2 separate regions of the Homo sapiens genome follow, and region 1 is linked to region 2. The links are contacts of gene promoters, found by promoter capture Hi-C in blood cells and fetal thymus (Javierre and others, 2016). All regions are on one chromosome and are shown on one strand. The core of a region is centred on a gene start or on the middle of the fragment in contact, and the rest is flanking DNA. Distances in the headings are between cores, read along the strand shown.

Region 1 (3,040 bases), core at 318-2,817, 5.8 Mb after region 2:
CTCACGCCTGTAAGACCAGCACTTTGGGAGGCTGAGGCAGGAGGATCACTTGATCCCAGAAGTTGGAGACCAGCCTGGGCGACACAGGGAGACCCCTCCCCCATCTCCACAAAAATAAAAATAAAATAAGCCAGGCGTGGTGGCGTGCACCTATAGTCCCAGCTACTTGGGAGGCTTAAGTGGGAGGCTCACTTGAGCCCAGGAGTTCGAGGCTGCCGTGAGCTATGATAGCACCACTGCACTCCAGCCTGAGCAACAGAGAAGACCCAGTCTCCAAAAAAAAAAAAAGCCCACCAAAAAAGTAAAAAAAAGTTGAAAATGATGACAGACCCTTTATTAGCACCTCTTACATGCCCGGGCAGTGAATTTATATCATCTTTCACAAATAGAAAAACTGAAGCTCATTCAGATTAGGTAATTTATCTGAAGACACAGATAAACCCCTCTCAGCGCCTGACTCTCGGCGCAATCGGGATGTTTCGCAGCGGGGCAGGGGCAGGGGCCGGAGCCACCGCCATCGCAGCCCGGGGAACAACGGACTCGGGGAAGCCCGGCCTGGCCCTTCAAGTCCCGGGCCCAGCAAGGGCCAGGACCCTCCCTCCCTCCCTGCAATCGGTCCCAACTCGCTGAATGAAGCTCATTCAGTTTAGGTAATTTATCTGAAGACACACGGTTAGTAAAAGGCAGAACCCAGGTTTGTATTCCGAAGCCCTCGTTCTTTCCACCACATTATTATGGCCTTCCTAACGGTAATCCTTACAATTTTAAATGAACATATACCATAGCTCCTCTCCTGAACACCGAGGGACGCTGGCTCACGGAGTTTAGAAAGTTAACGCATCTGGCCGGGCGCGATGGCTCACGCCTGTAATCCCAGCACTTTGGGAGGCCGAGGTGGGCGGATCACAAGGTCAGGAGTTCGAGACCAGCTTGACTAAGATGGTGAAACCCCGTCTTTACTAAAAATACAAAAATTAGCTGGGCATGGTGGCACAGGCCTGTAATCCCAGCTACTCGGGAGGCTGAGGCAGAAGAATCGCTTGAACCCGGGAGGTGGAGGGTGCGGTGAGCCGAGATCGCGCCACTGCACTCCAGCCTGGGTGACAGAGCGAGACTCCGTCTCAAAAAAAAAAAAAAAAAAAAGGAAGTTTACGCAACCCGCTGCGTCCCCTCCACCGCCGCGCACCCCGTCTCGCAGCTGGCGCGGTGTTTGCTGGTGACATGAACTCAACCAGCCTCCACCATCTGGGGATCGGGGCGACATCCTTGGTCTGGTTTGCAAGAGGACCCGCACGCCTCCAGCTGGGGCGGAATTGGAAGATTCAGAAAGGAAAGTTGGGGAGGCGGGGAAGGAAGGGTGCAAAAGTGACACTGTGCCAGGGTCTCCAGGGCCGCGGAGCTCCGGGACAGGCAGCGCCTTCCGAGCTGCACAAACGCGTGGGGCGGGGCGTCTCTGGATCCGGAAGTTGCCTCTGCCCTCACCAAAGATGGCGGCCCCGGCGCCGCTCGCCCACCTCTCGTAACCAATGGAACCGCGGCGCTCGGCCGATTCTCGCAGGCGCCCTCAGATCTACGCTCTCTGATGCAACGCCGGAATCGCGGAAACCGCCGGTGCACGTTGGAGTCATAAGACGGCGTCGGTGTTGCAGTCTGTGTCCTTGGAGGTGACCAGGGCCACTGCAGGCATGGTGCTAGGTGGGTGAGACTCAGTGTATGGCGCGGTGTTCCCTGCCTGGGGCAGGAACTCTGCTCCAGTCGGGTTTCGGCGCTTTCCTTAGTGCCTACCAGAGTGGGCGCCCCGCGAATGTTTGGGGACCGATTGCAGGGAGGGAGGGAGGGAGGGTGCTGGCCTTTGCTGGGCCCGGGACTTGAAGGGCCAGGCCGGGCTTCCCCGAGTCCGTCGTTCCCCCGGGCTGCGATGGCGGTGGCTCCGGGCCCTTCCCCTGCCCCGCTGCGAAACCTCCCGATTGCGCTGAGACTCAGGCGCTGGGACGGGTTCAGACACAGGGTAGCCCCTACTCCTGCAGTTCTTCAAAGTGATCGTCAGGAAGGGGCTTTAGGATTCTAGTTGTTTTTCTCCCACCCTCATTTTTTTATTGAGGTTTCCGGGGAGACCATACTGTGCAGTAGGAAAAAAAAAAAAAAAAAGAGAGAGACCTGGATGGATGTTAACTGTTCAGACCTACTAGTTGTGAGGCCTTCTGAAATTTTCTAACCTCAGAGCTTCTGTTTCCTTTAAAGTCCAGAGGGAGCTGGTGTTTATTTGCCATCTCTACAAAAACTGGCACTGGGATATCTGATTTGTATGTGTTATTTTATTTCATCCTCAGCACAGCCTTTCAAGATGGGGATTGTTTTTCCTATTTTATAGGTAAAGAAATAAGCTCAGAAAGGTTAAGTAAATTCTCCAGAGTCACCCTGCCTTTTAAGGTACAAAATCCAACATTCCAGCGTATGTCTGATCAACTTCAAAGCCCATATTTTATTTTTGGGTGCCCAATTAGATAGAATAAATATCACAAATTAAAATGATCAGAGTTCATTTTGAAAACCTGGATTATTAACTAATGTTTTTATGAGATGGATGTTATTGAAATGGAGTGGGGAAATAACTAGGATATTAATTACTTATGGACCTCAATTTTTATTAATCGATGCTTGTTCTGTTTACAAAGATAAGGAATGAATAAAGTAGTAAGGTGACTAATAGTTAATGGCCAGACCATAACTTACCCTCATTTTGTCAAACAGCAGAGCTGTACGTCTCTGACCGAGAGGGAAGCGATGCCACGGGAGATGGAACCAAGGAGAAACCATTTAAAACAGGTCTAAAGGTAGAGTCTCTTCTCATTAGGAAAATGAGACTGCATTTATTAATGAGTTATGTCAATTTTCTTGTGACTTGCCAAGAACTTAATTTCAAACACTAGGTTCCAAAGAGAATTTTCAGAAAAGGGAAAGTAAGGAATGCATACAGATATGTGACTTTAAGATTGTTAGATGATCAAAGTCTAAACTTACTTTTTAACATTTTGAAAAA
Region 2 (3,110 bases), core at 287-2,786:
TTTCTCCCACAGTTAGTTCAGCCTATGCTCAGGAATGTACAAGGACAGCTTGGAGGTTAAAAGTAAGATGGAGTTGGTTAAGTTAGATCTCTTTCACTGTCTCAGTCATCATTTTGCGAAGGCAAATTCACAAGTGGGAAGAAAGGACGGGTAGATGCAGGGCAGAGAGAGGGCTCTGTGCTTCGAGCCTGGATGATACAGATTTGGCAATACTATTCTAAGGAGAGACCAGAGAAAGAAGTTTAGGGTAGAAGGTAATTAATTAGAGTATGTTGAATTTGTCTTGCAGAAAAACCCTGTGAAGGAAACCTCTGGGAGGCTGTTGTAAATGCTGGGCTGGGGATGGGGTGGGTCTAGAGATCCAGATTTGAAGCAATTTCTAGTCTATTGATAGCTGAAGCTCAAGAAGAGAGTTAGATGAGCAGAGGTGAAGAGAGAAGAGGACATCAGACTCTTGAGTAAATTCAGCTTAAGCTCAGGGAGGAGTAAGAAAGGGAGACAGTGAAGGAAGCAGATAAGGAATATTGGGAAGCTGGACAAACAAGAACTGGGTAGTTGACAATACCAATGAAGAGGGAAGAGGAGAGGACTTTAATTCTTTCGGAGATGCCAGATGAGAAAAAATTAAGAAATGAGTGAGAAAAAAATGATGGAGTGATTAAACATCTATGTTGCTTTCCTTTGAGAATGTTAACTATGAAAAGAAGAAAAGGGTGGTGGTGGCTGCAAACCATAGGAAGGCTGAGAAAGGGTTTTACTTTGGTTCTGCCTCTAATCCCTGACGCATTCAACCTCCTCAAGCCATTTGCTTGTAAACATAACTGGCATAAATAATATCTGATATGCCCATTTTACAGGACAAGTGCTTCCCTCTCAGACCACATACTCGAGGACAGCGGCCGTCCACGCCTTATTTACATTCATCTTCCCAACACAACAGTCATTTGGAAGATGCCGAGTGGCGTGGGAAGAACAAGCGGGAACGAGCGCCGACCCGCCCGCGGCCTGACTGCTAGCGCACCGCTGTGCGGCCGCCTCACCGCGCACTCCCTCCTGAATTATTCACCACCGAGACGAGGACGGTGATCGCCCCCATTCCACAGAGGACACGGAGTGAAGGCGCAGTCACAGGCCCAAAGCCCCCAGTCGGCGGGTCTTGGAAATGGACGACTTTTTCACTCAAAAGCTACGAGGCAACAAAGCATGTGGATGAGGAGGGAAGGGAGCCGGGGCCAATAATTCATCTCAAAGTAAAAGACGTCCCCGGGGGTGGGGAACAAACAAACAACAAAACCCGGCTCTGTGCTTCCGCGCTTGCGCTCTCCTAGGTCTGCCAGGCTGCCGCCCGCGCCTAGGCCAGAGTCTCAGTGCGCCTGCGCCGAGCCCGACTTCCGCCAGGGCTCGATTGGCTTCCAGGCTACTTCTCCCGGCCCAGGGAGGGCCTGCGCTGTGGCTAGAGAAGGGAGTCTGGTGACTGGGTGCGCGTGCTGATGACGAAATCGGAAGTGCCCGGAGCAGAGGCGGGACCAGAACCTAGAGGGCCTCGGGATTGCGGAAGTTTGGTGGGGAGGGTCGGAGCTCTGGTGGAGAGAGTGTTGTCTAAAACAAGTTCCGGAAGGGAGGCTGCCCTTCGCGGTCCGAGAACCACCGGCCTCCCCAGTTTGAGGGCTGTTACCCCGTGCGCGCTTCGACGTTGCTGCTGTTGGCTCTCCTCGCCCCTCGTTCCCTTGGGAACCGCCTGGGAACTCCGCCATGTCATCCACTTCGCCCAACCTCCAGGTATCATTGCTCATCTCCCGTCCCCCTAGGGAGCTGGGATCGAGGGGAGGCGCGAGAAGCGGGTGGGGGGCGGGGAGAAGGGAGGAAGCGGCCGCGCCTGTGGTCGAGGCGCAGGAGGGCGGGTCCGGGGACCTGCAGCAGGTGGGAGAGGGGCCCGTTTTCCAACGGAAAGGTCGTTTCTGGCCCGCTCTTGGGGTCTCCCGAGCTACTGGCTTTGTGAGACTCTTCACTTTTGTTGACACTTCCCGCTTCCAAACCAGCCAAGATCTGGGCAGGTTTCTCCAATCAGGGTTAACGGAGAAAGAAAGAACGTAATTTTTGCAAAGCCCTATTCTGGACCAGTTGAAGATAGGGTGGTCATAGTTCGGTCTTAGTTTCTCAAGCTGACAGCAGACCCCTTCATTCTGAGCTGTCAGGTGAGTAGAGATATGGGAACAGACCAAGAATCTGAGATTACAGCCAGCCTGCATGCAATCTCCGTGAAGTCATTGAATTTATGTGCACACTCCTGTGGCTCCCAGATGGTAGTGTGTAAGATCGAGGAGTATTCTTAAACCTCTGTGTGGCTCCACTTCCCCTCCTCTACCGCAATGAGCACAGTGTTTTGTACACAAATCATGGAATCTTAAGATTTTAGGCTTAATCGTTAGTCCTCTGTGGAATGGAATTCGTTCAGAAAAGAAATTTCTTAATGTAATGGTGTCTCCCATCCCCAGAATGGATCTAGGGCTTCAGTGGCGTTTAGAATGTAATGTGGCTTAATGTAGAGGACTCCCAGTCCAGTAAGTCAATAAGGCACAAAAGAGTAGCCTAAAATACTTGTATTGAGTCCCCGTCGTGGACTTCCGGTAGTTTGTTGAACAAGCAGTTATTGGAGTGCCTGACAGAGGCATCAAAGGTAATGGAAGAACTCCTTAACCCATGATAATTGATTCTGAAGAAAGACCACTCAAAGTAGACCCACTTAAACAGAGATTAAAATTTCACACACACATACACAAAAAGAGTGGGAAAGGAGGCTTGCTTGGGACTTTCATCTTGAAAATCGACCTAGAAGATTATTAAAATAATTGTTATCTTTCACAAAATATTATAATTGTATAATTGCAACAATGACTCATTTTGTGGAATAAGTCAAGTGTTGATTTGTCTGTGTTTTTTTCCTTTTCTTTTCTTTCTTTTTTTTTTTTTTTTTGAGACGGAGTCTTGCACGGTCGCCCAGGCTTGAGTGCAGTGGCGTGATTTCAGCTCACTACAACCTCCACCTCCCAGGTTCAAGCGATTCTCTTGCCTCAGCCTCCTGAGTACCTGGGACTACAGGCACCCACCAC

Evidence for each region. The method cuts DNA at HindIII sites, captures the fragments that hold promoters and counts their contacts. A CHiCAGO score of 5 or more calls a contact.
Region 1: the fragment with the promoter of NARS1 here is called in contact with the fragment with the promoter of VPS4B in region 2 in 1 of 17 cell types (neutrophils); the score reaches 5.1 in neutrophils.

What each region holds. Positions count from the first base shown.
Region 1 is chr18:57,620,363-57,623,402 of GRCh38, reverse strand. It overlaps NARS1 (asparaginyl-tRNA synthetase 1), which reads left to right and starts at 1,567. Exons shown (of 14, transcript NM_004539.4): 1 at 1,567-1,695; 2 at 2,752-2,834. The coding sequence starts at 1,686. RefSeq lists enhancers at 1,294-1,633, 1,014-1,718. The HindIII fragment of the contact is 17,897 bases long and covers 1-3,040 here.
Region 2 is chr18:63,420,902-63,424,011 of GRCh38, reverse strand. VPS4B (vacuolar protein sorting 4 homolog B) reads left to right here and starts at 1,536. Exons shown (of 11, transcript NM_004869.4): 1 at 1,536-1,779. The coding sequence starts at 1,753. RefSeq lists an enhancer at 1,369-1,668. The HindIII fragment of the contact is 6,978 bases long and covers 1-3,110 here.